4 separate regions of the Homo sapiens genome follow, and regions 1, 2 and 4 are each linked to region 3. The links are contacts of gene promoters, found by promoter capture Hi-C in blood cells and fetal thymus (Javierre and others, 2016). All regions are on one chromosome and are shown on one strand. Each heading gives the region's core, a stretch centred on a gene start or on the middle of the fragment in contact. The rest is flanking DNA. Distances are from core to core; before and after follow the strand shown.

What was found. Contacts are between HindIII fragments. The CHiCAGO score rates a contact against its expected background, and 5 or more counts as called.
Region 1: a fragment that was not itself captured here is called in contact with the fragment with the promoter of OXR1-AS1 in region 3 in 3 of 17 cell types (non-activated CD4 T cells, naive CD8 T cells and total CD8 T cells); the score reaches 8.8 in non-activated CD4 T cells.
Region 2: a contact is called between a fragment that was not itself captured here and the fragment with the promoter of OXR1-AS1 in region 3, in 1 of 17 cell types (fetal thymus). The highest score is 6.1, in fetal thymus.
Region 4: a contact is called between a fragment that was not itself captured here and the fragment with the promoter of OXR1-AS1 in region 3, in 1 of 17 cell types (non-activated CD4 T cells). The highest score is 7.3, in non-activated CD4 T cells.

What each region holds. Positions count from the first base shown.
Region 1 is chr8:109,535,627-109,538,981 of GRCh38, forward strand. PKHD1L1 (PKHD1 like 1) reads left to right here. Exons shown (of 78, transcript NM_177531.6): 78 at 1-1,581. Among named protein-coding and RNA genes, the nearest start is that of EBAG9UORF, 2.4 kb to the right of the region's middle. The HindIII fragment of the contact is 518 bases long and covers 1,486-2,003 here.
Region 2 is chr8:104,583,296-104,586,528 of GRCh38, forward strand. The region is part of intron 1 of LRP12 (LDL receptor related protein 12); the gene reads right to left. Among named protein-coding and RNA genes, the nearest start is that of LRP12, 4.3 kb to the right of the region's middle. The HindIII fragment of the contact is 1,547 bases long and covers 1,162-2,708 here.
Region 3 is chr8:106,656,466-106,660,260 of GRCh38, forward strand. OXR1-AS1 (OXR1 antisense RNA 1) reads right to left here and starts at 1,255. Exons shown (of 3, transcript XR_007061059.1): 1 at 1-1,255. All of the region lies in intron 3 of OXR1 (oxidation resistance 1), which reads left to right. RefSeq lists an enhancer at 1,146-1,355 and silencers at 1,426-1,675, 1,716-1,865. The HindIII fragment of the contact is 2,439 bases long and covers 424-2,862 here.
Region 4 is chr8:109,552,014-109,555,633 of GRCh38, forward strand. It overlaps EBAG9 (estrogen receptor binding site associated antigen 9), which reads left to right. Exons shown (of 7, transcript NM_004215.5): 3 at 1,852-1,930; 4 at 2,716-2,874. Among named protein-coding and RNA genes, the nearest start is that of EBAG9, 14 kb to the left of the region's middle. The HindIII fragment of the contact is 1,613 bases long and covers 744-2,356 here.

The sequences.
Region 1 (3,355 bases), core at 495-2,994, 2.9 Mb after region 3:
ACATATCCTCCTAAGTGAATTTGAATTAGACACTGGAAAATTTAAAAAGGTCAGTTACTATGAAGAAGGTGTAACAATATTTATATTAATCAGACAGCAAAGTAACAAACTGACTTAGAGGAAGGAAAATAGTAAAATACAAAAGACTAAGTTAGCAGATCATTTTGATATCCAGATGTGCTGAAATGATGGACACTGAGAAGAAAGAATAGACAAAACTTGGCAACAGATCTTGGTATGAAATAAATATCCCATGAGTAGTACATAAAAGCCTGGAGAGAGAGGGGAAGGATTGTAAGTGTCATAGTTCTGACAGCTGCTCTTTCATCCTATGCCTTTAAAACAAAGGGAACAAAGAAGGGAACAAAGAAGGTAGAAGCGGGGGTATGGAGGGTTGACTTCTGGCTGTCCCTCCCTGTTTCCCTTTGTTAATATATTGCTAGTAGACATGTCTACTTCTGGTTGCTGATGACATAAAATTCACCTCTATTTCTTGGAAGCACTATTCCATGTTGTGAGCTAAAGGGGATTGTACTGATCTTGAAGATAACAAATCTGCCTGCTTCAAAGGTTTCACCGATTTTATTGCTGTGTTTCCAACACATTTCCACATATGGTATGATATTTAATTTGCAAAATAAATCCGTAAAGCAGGAATTACTAACCTAATTTTGCAGATGAGAAAACTGAGGCTTAAAGTTGTTCAAGGTCAAAGTCACGATGTCCATCATGCTGTAGCTCAATGAATGAGTCTCACATTGTTTCATGTTGTTTTATTTCTACTTTCTCAATCCATGTACAAGATAGATTTACAAACTACTGTTTTATGTTGGTTGTATGAATTTCAATACATTTACTGTTAGAAATAACAAAAGGTCTTAGACTGCCAGATGCTGTTCCCATCAACTCTACTTAATTCATAATATAGCTGAACTCTGTCATAAATCTAATAACGATGTGGACATTAGCCAGAAGTATGATGTGGCTGAACCTCACCACTGAACACAAAATGAGAATTCACCTCATCTTTTCATTTGAATTTATTTCTACTAAAATATATGTATTATTTTTCTTGATTTCTAACCAGGCCCCTTCTGAAGAAAACTGGTTAACTCTAAATTGTTACTAAATTTTGAATCTTCCTGTATTTAGCAATAAAAGTTACTGCTAATTGTAATAACAATTATGAGGAAAAATTTATTTAAATGCTTCATAGAAAGTTAATTTTCATTTAATAGAAAAGAAATAAAAAATCTGCTTCAGACTGTTTGATTTCTCTATTAGGCAATTGACCCTAACTAGTATATGGTGATTTTGAGTATTAAAAAAGAAGTTATAATTTTCCAGAATATTAATGTTTATTATTTTGAAAGCAAGTAAAATTCTCCAGTAGGAAGATTAATAAAACAATTCATTAAAATTCTCATCAGAAAATCCTATGCTTTCAAATGTATCTGCTCAAAGATGTCACTCTATGTGCGGCAAAGCTTTGTTTTACTTGATCAAGAAATGAATGTGACTTTATGATCTTGTATTCAACTGTGAACAGCTGCTCATTAATAAAAAGCCATTAAAGTCCAAGTCAGAACAGCAGGTCTAAAATTGTGTTTGAGGGAAAAAAAACCCACCCTTTGATGAAAAGCCAGGGAACTGGGTTGGGAAAGATCTGGAAGCAGAGGGCTGTGTTTGCAGTCTGCTCCTACCTCCTGGGCCAGGTCAGGTGACAAGGCCAGAGTTAGCCCCAGCTGGAGAAGTCAGAACAAAGCCTATGTAGGCTTTGAAAGGGGAGAGTAAGTGGTGGGCTGGAGGTTGATAGTGTGAATAAATCAAGCTGGTAATTGGGCAGAGGCTGATCAGAAGCGTTAAAGTGAGCAAAATGGTTTGGACACAGAGCAGACAGAATTTACTATATTCCATTGAGTAAAAGAAATTCATATGCCAGGTTCTATCCCTTATGTTCCTCCCATTTGACATCTGGTGGTTTCCTACCCCCGTCCCACACAAGCTTTGGGGAGAGGACAGGACTTAAAGTTCCCTGTTCCCAAGAGGTGGTCCCTAAACCCAATCCCAAATTATTGACTTGTGATCCCAATTATGGGCTTACTATTTAACAAGTAAAGATGATTTTAAAATATTATTTTATAGGTATTACTAAAGTAAATTTTAAATTTGCAGTCTTTAGCGAGCTTTGTTTTCTGTTTTGCTATTGTGTTGGGAAACAAGTACTCAGTAACTAGCTGTTTCTGGAAAAGTATATACATTTCGTTTTGTTTCATTTGGAAATGGCAAATTTAATAAAGAAAACTGAAGAATCAGGAAAAAGAAGAAAATATCCTTGGGCATAATAAATTGTCTAAAGCAATCAACTCTTTAAGAAAAAAAATTTAAACACGTTTATATCCGAATATAGGTTATTTTGGATTTTTTTTTTTTTTTTTTTTGAGTCAGGGTCCTGCTCTGTCTCCCAGGCTGGAGTGCAGGGCCCAATCATGGCTCACTGTAGTCTCGACCTCCCAGGCTCAGGTGATTCTTCCCACCTCAGCCTTCTGAGTAGCTGGGACTACAGGCATGCGCCACCAAACCTGGCTAATTTTTAAATTATTTGTAGAAACGGAGTTTCGCCCGTTGCCTGGGCTGGTCTTAAATTCCTGGGCTCAAGCGTTCCTCCTGCCTCGGCCTCCCAAAGTGCTGAGATTACAGGCATGAGTTACCGTGCCCAGCTAGATAACTCGATTTTTTAAATCCAAAAAAAATTTAGAAATTTTATATTGAAATTTAGGCATTAGAATTCTAGAGATTAAAGTTAGAGCAGGTGTTTAAGGGACTGAAAGGGGTTGCATGGCCTTTGGGAAATGCAATTACCGGAAATGATACTGTAGTAATGCAATAGTAATGCAGTAGTAGTAGTAGCTGCAGCAACAACTGTTATCTATGAATGTTTGCTATGTGCCAGGCTCTGTGCTAAGAGAGCTTTGCAAGCATTACTACTGCATGAAGTAGGCACTATTATGGCCATTTTACTGATGAGGAAATTGAGGTGAACAGATTAAATAATTTTACCCAACTTTACACAGAACCATTCCAGAGCACGAGCCATAAACACATCTTTCCCGTCTTGGAAATTAAATTATTAATAAAAAACGTGGTGCAAATTGGAAAGAGGACGGTTGTGGTAGATTATCACAAAGTTAAGTGGGTAGGTGGTTGCTGGGTCAGGGTGGGAGAACAAAGGCAGCTGTAATAAAAAAAAAAATTAAAGGCATATAAAGAAAAAGGCTTGTTGAGAACAATTTGCATAAACTGATTTTGGCCTTAGACCCTATTCACTTCTCCCTCACCAGTCACTTTGCAACTG
Region 2 (3,233 bases), core at 685-3,184, 2.1 Mb before region 3:
ACTCTCCCTTACAACCATTATGTTCCAGTTACAGTGTTTTTAGTAATTTATCTGCAACATACCAGCTCTTTCCTGATCCTGGGCCTTTCATGCATTGTTCTCATATGTAAAGCTTTCTTACCCAACCATAACACAGTTAGCTATGCTTTAGGTCTCATAAACGTCCCTTCATGAAAAAGTCTTCCCCTAATTACTCTGTGCCTGTTACTCACTATCTCTGCCCCATGTCTGTTTCTTTGAGAGCACTTATTACAACTTATTCATTAGACTATAAGCTCCATGAGGGCAGAAACTATGTGCATCAGGTTTTATCTAACACAGTGCTAGACATAAGCAAGGGCTCAATAAATATTTGCTAAATGAACTAAGTGAAGAGACAGCCAGGGTTAGGCTACAATCCTGACTCTACTACTTCATACTGGTTTGACTTCAGTTAAGTCACAATATTTCTGTGTTTCAATGTTCTCTTCCATAAAACAAAAGAAAGAGTACATATCTGACAGGATTGCCAAATAAGACCTACTAAAGATTAATTGGCAATAAATAAAGACTAATCACGCATCTTTCAATGTAAGTATTAAGTACTTGTAAGTAAATAAGTGCTATTAAACTTAATTTAATGTTAGTTTCCTTCCTTCCCTTCTATAACTTAGACAGTAAGAATTCCCTAAGCTAATACAGTATTGAAATAATATATTTATATATACTTAAAAAGAAGAGACTCTGATAACATGTATTTGAATAGATACATTGGTAATTTGTATTTGCAGGATCTAATCCTAAATTTTAGAAAATGGGAATAAATAATGTACATCTATTACTTAACTCTCTCAAAAAGCAGGGAGTGATAAGGAGAAAAGAAGAAAAACAGAAAAGAAAGGTAACCTTAGAAATTAGAGATCATCAACTTCCAATTCCTAAATTTAGAACAACCTTCCTCTTCTTATAAAGACTTGCAGTAAGAACAGGATTAATATCTAAAATAAAAATATTCTATGTTTACTTAAATCTATATAATTCTCACTTATATTTCATATATATTTTTACTGAACTTTCACCCCTTAAATTGTGGTATCACTGGTAAAGTGGGGAAAAAAAAAAGGAACAACATCTCATATCAGAAACACAAAAAGGCCCTCTTGTTCCCTTAATATTTTAATAAGCTTTAAATTTTCTAATTACAAAAGTAAATCTCAACATTTTCTTTAACTGCTGCTCACTTTTCAGGCTAAAATCCCTTTTATGTTCTTCAAAAGAAATTTTACTTTCTAGGAACCTTATAAATCATTTACCATACATCATTCAAATCTCCTCCATACTCTATCTAGAATACAGTTAACAGTGCTTGTTTAATACTTTCTGCCCTGATAACCACCTAGAATTTTGTGGAATGTGCTGCCCACCTTCATATTCTCCCAAGGATATGGATATAATTTAGATTCTGAACTCAAGGAAGGGTTTATGTTAAGCAATTAATTCAATTTTATTCAACACATTTTATGTAATCAAACTTGACTTTGTAAGAAGTAATTGGTATCTGGTTTAGATTTTTCCCTCATGTTCCAGTTACTTCTACAACCTTTCTAAAATTGGAATTTCTTGTCTACCCTTAAACCAGTTATTAAGTGCTACTGAACATTCCATAAAATTCATGGGAAAAGATTCATCCATTACATATATGCAAAGTAAAAAGATTATTTTAGGCTACCACAACATCTAGAATACTACTGTGAACAGTAAAGACTCTTGACTGTAATAAGCTGAAAACCAGTTTAAAAATGAATTTTATCACAAGTCAATCAGTATATGCTGTGAACAGTTCTACGACTATCAAATGCTCTGGCAGCAAGTAACCAAAAATTAACCATCTGCAACTCTTGAAGTTTATTGTAAAATGATATACAAACAAGAAACATTCTAAATTACATTTATTTATTTATTTATTTTTTGAGACAGAGTTTCACTCGTCACCCAGGCTAGAATACAATCGTGCAATCTTGGCTCACTGTAACCTCCACCTTCCTGGTTCAAGTGATTCTCCTGCCTCAGCCTCCTGAGTAGCTGGGATTACAGGCATGTACCAGCACACCTGGCTAATTTTTGTATTTTTAATAGAGACGGGGTTTCGCCATGTTGGCCAGGCTGGTCTCAAACTCCTGACTTCAGGAGACTCACCCGCCTCAGCCTCCCAAAGTGCTGGGATTACAGGCTTGAGTCACCACGCCTGGCCTCTAAACTATATTTTAAGGCTTCATCTTGGGTAGTGTTTTTCAAGCTAAGGACTGCAATTTATTAGTGGATCCAAAATTTATTTAATGAGTCCAGACCAGCAAATGAAGAAGGGAAGGGTGAGAAAGAGGAGGAATAAATAGAAAACATCTGAGTGCACAGGTAGTTAAGAGTACGATTTCATTAACTTTTTTCTCTATGTACATAGTACCCGAAGCAATGTGTATTTTAAGGGTGGGTTTGAGTAAAAGTTAGGAAACACTAATCTGGGAGACAAACAGAAGTGGAAAGGATAAAGCAACGGAACTGTCAGAATTACCAAATTGTGGTTTAGGAGGTGAGCAAGACTAACAGCTTCTATTGACTAGGAGACAGAGGTTTTGGAAACTCCCATAGATTTGTAAAAGCGAGACATCCCTATGTGAAAAATGACAAAGCACTTTTTCCTCTTACAGTAAGCCTAGGACAATGCGTAGCAAAGCTTGTGGTTGTCACCACTGATATTTTTATCCCTTCAAACTTTCAAAGGTGGCAGAGGTCAACCTTTACTCTCTCCTAACTCTTAGGCACATTGAATGCGGTTAAGATACAGTAGCCCCTGAAAGATAATTACAGGTCCTTGAACAACTACTTCTAGAAAACATTATATTCTAGATTACAATTTAGAGTTTCAGGTAAGACTCTGGCATTCAGAAAAGTTAATTTGGAAGTACAACAGTCACATATCAGAGCCCATAAAATCGTCATCTGGAAAGTAGCACCAAAATAAACAACAAAAAATTTTTTTATGTATGTGAAATGTTTCAAAAATCTGAAGCACACCTTAGAGTCATTTCATTTAAGAGTCACTCTGTGAAGAATTAATATTGGAGTTCCCTAAATATTGGCCAATCAACCTGCTTTTCTTTGTTAACAGTGATTGTGAATATTCAGTTTCATTAACAGAGCTAATTATTTTTGAAGCCTTTTAAAACACACACACACTTTTTACTGTATAGAGGACA
Region 3 (3,795 bases), core at 5-2,504:
CCATCTCCTAATACCATCACATTGGGGTTAGGATTTTAACAAATGAATTTAAGGGAAAGCACAAACATTCCGTCCACTGCAACATCTACAAAATAGGTCCTTAGGAAGTGCAGAAGTCTGGAACAGTTCTTTCCCAAGCCACAACCCTGAAAACATGGATTGCTGGGTATGCAGATTCTCCTGGGTCCCTTTCCCATAAACACCGAATTAGACACTCTGAGGATGCAGCCCAGACATTCTGTATTTTTCACCAGGCATAATGGTGATGGCTGATATTAGAATGGTGAAATTTATCCCACCTAGTAAGAATCTAAACTGAAAATGGTGATGATGCAAAAAAGATCTGTCAACCAGTTAAAAAAAAAAAAAAAAAAAGAGGGTGTGTGTTTGTCAGGAGGGATAGTCTTTAGTAGTATGGCCAAAAGCTTAAGCCTGATTTTCAGGGCTCTATTGTTGGAGTGGGTAGTTCATCAACTTCCTAAGTAATTCAAATCTTTTTCCCCCCAATATATTAATATATTGGTGATTCCAAGAAAGAGGGTTTAATTTATTTAATGCCTGGGAAAACTAAAAGAACTACAAACAGATGTGAAAGGAAGAGAATAACCACATCTCACAGGAAGCAAAATTTCTGTCAAAAGTTACTGTTCTTTCCCTGTCTAGGTTCTTTGTCCCTGAAAGGTAGATCCGCAAACTAAATCCCTCAATAACGTTGCCTAAACAGGACTGGGATCATAGAATGTCCAACACTAACATGAGTTCATAATGGCACAACGAACTTAAAATGTTACTATTCATGTTTTAATTATGATTGCAGTCTTACGTTGAAGGTATCTCCGCCGTCCTTAAACATAAAAAAAAAAAAAGGAAATACAAGCTGCAAAAGTTTTATGTAATGCACTCCACCCTCTTTTTTCCCCAAGCCAACACACACCCTTCAAACTTTTTGACAGTTATTTTCAGACCCCTCCTAGGCTCCCGAACTCCATGCAACTCCAGCAGTCTCCCCTGGGCCATTTTTAGCCTCTGCTCTGACCTGGCGGGAGGCTGGGTGTCCACCCTTTCCCCTGCAGTCCTGAAAGTCCGGTCCGAGCGCGGACGGGGCGGGGAGGGGCTGGGCGGGCCAGGCCAGCTCCATTGGCGCCAGGCGGGTGGGGGAATGCGCTGAGAGGACCCGTCCAGCTTGCTTAAAAGCCATCAGTTTTCTGACCCCGCATCGGTTCCAGGAAGAATACACCTATGTGACAAGCTAAGTTCTGCCTCATTTTGCATTTAGAAGCCACAAGAAAAACTTTTCGAAAACTTTTGTCCGTCTTTTGCTCCCCCGACGCGTGGTTTCCTGATGGTCCGTCCCCGGGCAGAGAGAGGGACGCCCCCTCCTCCTCCCCGCCTCTTGTGAGGCGCGCGGAGCCGCCTCCCCTGGGTCAGGTCTGATGGGCCGGTGGGCGCGCTAGTGGTGGCCGCCACCGCCGAAACCGTCGACCTCCTGGGCCCCAGTTCCGCGTCCAGCCCCGCGGCAGCATGGACTACCTGACGACGTTCACCGAGAAGAGTGGGCGCCTTCTGCGGGGCACGGCCAACCGCCTGTTGGGGTTCGGGGGCGGCGGCGAAGCCCGGCAGGTGCGCTTCGAAGATTACCTGAGGGAGCCAGCCCAGGGGGACCTCGGGTGCGGGTCCCCGCCCCACCGGCCCCCGGCGCCGTCCAGCCCGGAGGGACCTGGTGAGCCCACCTTTCTTTCGCCTCCCGCGCGGCCGACCTGGGCTGAGGGCTGTGGGGAGGCGGCGGTCGTGGCGCCGGGCGGGGGTCGCTGCCCGGCTCTGGCAGGTGTGCCTGGGCCGGGGCGGGCAACGTGGCCGGGGTGGCGGCCGCCGGGGGCGAGGAAGGAAGGACTCGTTCGGCTCTGGGGAGGGAAGACTTTCAGCTGCGTGCCAGCTCTTCCTGCTCTGCTCTTCCTGCTTTCCTCACCTAGACTTGATTTTCTTTCCCCGCCAAGTATTTCAAGGGGACGATCCATTCTCTCTTTCCCTCCCACTGGGAGGTGAAGACTGAACCAGTTATGACGTCCGTGTTTTCAGTCTTGGATTCTTGAAGAGCGCTGTGCCTGCTTTGGTTTTGGTTTGGGTCAGTCTTTCCTTAATATTTCTCAGTTGTTAGGATTCACTTCCTAACCGAAAAATAAAAAGCCAGATACTTCTTTGTAAAATAAAACACTTCATTAACATTGGAAGCTAGTTGACATTTTGCGTCGTGTACTTTTTGAACGGCTGCACGTTGTCTTGTGGTGGCAGAACCTAGAAACTTTCTCAGTTCCTGTTTATTTTGTGTTGTGTTGGCCGATTTTTTTCACCACAGTGGCTTTGTACCATTCTTTAAAACAGTCATTTGTAGCGACATGATATTGATAACTTAAAGAATTTTTGAAAGTGCTGCTGAACAGTTTTAGCATAATGCATAGGGTAACTTCCAGTGTCCTTGGCTTCGTTTAACAGGTAGCAGACATCCTAGCCATGTCTGATTTTTATTTTTGTTAATTGCTTTAATATTTGAGGGTTATGAAAATAAATGAGCATTAGAGAGTTTAGAAAATAGAGATAGGCACAAAGTGTGTAAAATCTGTTTATAACTCCACATCGTGCCAGTCATTTTATTTTAAATTTTATCTTACTTTATTTTTGTAGAGATGGAGTCTCGCTGTGTTGCCCAGGCTGGTCTTAACTCTTGGCCTCAAGTGATCCTCCTGCCTAGGCCTTCCCAAGTGCTGGGATTACAGGCCTGAACCACCATGCTGGGCCCTGCCAGTTGTTTTAAAGCAGTAAAACAGTGAGGACATTTTTGATCTATGTGTGTAGGTATGTAATTTAAGCTTTGAAGAAATATTAAAGTCTCATTTTAGCATAGCCCTTTAAAATAAATTTTCCTTACTTTACATAAAATATTTTTTATCTTTAGAAATGCTGTTTATGGAATTAGGAAATGAAAAGGGGAGGGGAATACTTTTGTTTCTGCTCTGAAGGACGTTAACCAAATGCAGAATCCTCTTAAAGGTGGGACCAGGCATAGGAAAGGGACTTTAAAGTGTTCAAATCAAGGACTTTTTAAAATGAGTTTTCAGTAGCCTAATTGAAAACAGTTGATGTGTGACCAGCCTTGAAATGGGTGGAGAATTCAGAAATATGTGGGGTAACTTAACTAAAAAGGAATATGGTTAGTATTTTAATAAATATGGCCAAACACGTGTATCTGATTCATTCGGTGGCCCGTGTCTGTAGTTCCAGCTACTCTGCTCAGGAGGCTGGGGCGGGAAGATCCTTTGAGCCCAGGAGGAGAATCCAGACTGGGCAGCAGAGAGACACTTATGTGTTTATATATGTGGAGCACACAGCTATATCTGACACCCTCCTTCAAAGTGGCGCTTCTGAAGTGATATGTATTCCTCTTCTGTTGAAGCTGCCTTATGTATTCATTGCATATTCTTTAATAGTCATGGTGCCCCCAAATCTCTGACACATTAGAGAGGCGTTGTGAGGTCAAAGTATGACCACAGTCATGTGGGCAGGTACGTCCTAGCATTAACTTCCTGAAAGAATTTGGACAAGTTACTTAGTGTCTTTGGGCCTATATTTTCTTCTTTGTAAATGAGGTTGGATTTGGTGATTTCAAAATTCTCTATTCTAGAGCATTTTCATTTGGAGCAGAATTAGTGAAAACTAGCTGACTTTTGAGAGGCAACGTGTATATACACAAGTGAAAAATAAATGATTCTTCATATGTTTCCAGCTAGCCTTTGTTTAAAA
Region 4 (3,620 bases), core at 300-2,799, 2.9 Mb after region 3:
AAAGTTACTTACATACTAAGAGGAGGGTATAGTAAAAGAGGAAATGGACAGCAATCAGCTCTTTTTTTAATATATATAGACATGACTTAGAGGTTACACACAACAATTTTTGCACTGCCTGCTTTCCAGAGCTTAGTCATATGGCCCCCTAGCTGCAAGGAAGGATAGGAACTGCAGTCTCTGGCTATATGACCATTTGATAGCTGCTAAATTGAACTTATTGCTAAAAGTAGAGTGGTCTGGGATTTAAAAAAAAAAAAAAAATCCAGGGTATTGCAAGAGAACAAGTGGGTGAAATGATCATCTCTGGATGATCACTGGGGCAGAAGTGAAGAAAGAAATGGAAAATTTAGGTGGTTGACTTGAAATCACCCAAGAGGATAGGATTTGGGAAGTAGAAAAAGGAGCAAACTAAGTGTTCAAATTACCAGAGAATGAGGAAGAGAATGGCCAGAAATTCACCAGGTAAAGCAACATTAAAAATGGGTATTAATTGCCAGAAGGCAGGAAGTTAAAAGAAGCATTGTGTTAACAGTGGTGATGAAATGTAGATGTTTTCTTCTTATACTTCTATTTTTTAAAATTTTCATTAAATATAGATTACTTCTAGGATAAGAAATTTTCTTGATGTAAAAATATTAAGGACATTCCTATTGGCACTATAAATTTCTGTTGTAAATGTATACATATTTAGAATTGATTGTATGTTCAGTTTTAAAGAAAACTGACCATATGTTAGGATAAGCTTCTCTTTGGTGTCTGAAGGAACCTTAGACCATGTATTTTAAAATACCAGACTTGGCTAGGCATGGTAGCTCATGCCTGTAATCCCAATGCTTTGGGAGGCCGAGGGGGTAGGATAGCTTGAGGCCAGGAGTTCAAGACCAGCCTGGGCAACACAGCAGGACCCCATCTCTATGGAAAGGAAAAACACGCTTGTATCATAAATTTCATAAAGGACTATATTACTTTTCTATTCACCCTTTAAACAAATATAGCTTTGAATCTGTAATAAAAATAGCTGACTTTATCGTTCTTAGTTCTTAGTTGATGCTTTTTTTTTTTATAGATTATTTGAAGTGAAGTAAATGACTAATTATCTCTATTACCTGCCATTTTTTGTATGTTGTGCTATGTAGCAGGCACACACTGTCTAGGGTTTTTAAATATGTCACTTAATTAAATCCAAACAACCCTGCAAAAGTGGGTTTGAATACCTGCATTTTATAGATGAGGCTGTTGAGGCTGAAAAGTAGGTAATTCTAACTAGACATAATAGAAGTAACATTGAAAACTGTGGTTTACACAGATTCCACAGCCCATGTTCTTAACAACTGAGTTATAGTACGTCCTGTTGAATGTGGTACTTTTCCTACTAATCCTTAAAAGTAAGTTACCATTTGGTTCAAACTAGTGATTTTTAAACTTCTTAATAGTTAATCTTATCAAGAAACCCCATGTGTAAAACATAAAAGCCAAGCCACCCTGTTTAAAACAGCAAAGGTGGCCCAGAACTTCACCCACAGAACCCACAGCACTCCAAGGAGCATGCTCTGAAACCGTCTTGCATTTTTATTTTTGACTTTATATTCCTCTTGAGTTTGTTTATAATTCTGAGTCCTAAGCCAAAAAGCAGTTATGTTGTTCTGTCCAAGATTTAAAAAACATTCACAGGATGTCTGATTTATGACTTTTTTTTACCATAAATTAGTGAGTAACTGTTACTAAAATCAATAATCATAAAATTGAGAAAGATCTTGTTTTATAAGCCTTCAATTACCATACATAATAGTGCTTTTACTTTGCTTGTTTTGGTGGTTCTTGAAATAAATTATTTCATTTTTGTTTCAGATCTGGCAGAGGACGGAAATTAAGTGGAGACCAAATAACTTTGCCAACTACAGTTGATTATTCATCAGTTCCTAAGCAGGTAGGTTTTTTTTGTGTGTTCTTTTGTTTTGTTTTGTTTTGAAAGATTGAATAAGTGTCCTAGAACAATATTTTAAAAACTGGATTGCAGATCATTAATAGAAATTAATTTTTGTTGTGTTGTTAAATTTATCTGGTCTGAAAATTCTATTTGGTTCTACATTTTATCTTCTGTTTCTTTGTTGACATTTTCTATTGTGTTTTCATTGGTTTCAAGTGTTTGCTATTGTTTGTTGGAGCATTTTTATAATAGCTATTTTAAAGCCTTAGAGAATTCCAACATATCATTTTGGTGTTGGTATCTGTTGATTAACTTGCCTTGCAAATTTAGATGTATTGTTTTTATATGCTGAATAATTCTGGGTTGTTTCATGAACATTTTGAATACTATGTTTTGAGACTTCATCTTATTTAAATCCTGTGGAGAAGCTTGGTATTTTTTATCAGATGATCAATCTGGATAGGCTTGGGTGAAAATGTCCAGCCCTTCTGTGAGTTGTAGTTTTAATGTCAGTTCAGTTTTCAGAGCATTTGCTTTCGTTTTACTTTGTTTTTTGTTTTTTGATGGACATAATAGAATAAAATAGAACAGAATATATCAGAATGTCTTGTATTTTTTGAACTTTTGATCAAGTTTTGATCTGTGATATGAAATGTATGTTTTCCCGTGGGTTAAAAAAGTTTGAAAACCAGTGTTTTAGAAAGCCCATTTTTCTAATAAATCATCAATGATGTGTTCATTAAGTTGCCCCTTTGTGGCTGATAATGTTGATCAATTAAATTTAGACAGATGTTGAAGAGTGGACTTCCTGGGATGAAGATGCACCCACCAGTGTAAAGATCGAAGGAGGGAATGGGAATGTGGCAACACAACAAAATTCTTTGGAACAACTGGAACCTGACTATTTTAAGGACATGACACCAACTATTAGGAAAACTCAGAAAGTATGTTAAGATTTATGCTTTTGGAGATTAAACTACTTTTTAGATTCCTATAGTTAAAATTAGGTGATACAATTCACATTTATTAGAAAGCCTATTTCTTTTTTTTTTTTTAATACTTTAAGTTTTAGGGTACATGTGCACAACATGCAGGTTAGTTACATATGTATACATGTGCCATGTTGGTGTGCTGCACCCATCAACTCGTCATTTAACATTAGGTATGTCCCTAATGCTATCCCTCCCCTCTCCCCCAACCCCACAACAGGCCCCAGTGTATGATGTTCCCCTTCCTATGTCCATGTGTTCTCATTGTTCAGTTCCCACCTATGAGTGACAACATGCAGTGTTTGGTTTTTTGTCCTTGCGATAGTTTGCTGAGAATGATGGTTTCCATCTTCATCCATGTCCCTATGGAGGACATGAACTCATCCTTTTTTATGGCTGCATAGTATTCTATGGTGTATATGTGCCACATTTTCTTAATCCAGTCTATCAGCATATTTCTAATTATCAGTTGTTTGTTTTCTGTCATGTTAAGTAAGAATTTTATATGTTCAAATGACCTAGACATAGTTCTAGTAAGTTGTACCCCAAGTCTTTTAAAATTATATTTATATATGTATCGAAATCCTACTATATGTCAGATTCTAGACTCCAGTCTCTGCCATGGAGACTAAGGTGAATTGGATAAGAGTTCTAACAAGTTTGTACTTCAGTAATATCTACAAACTGATAGGTAGAGTTTA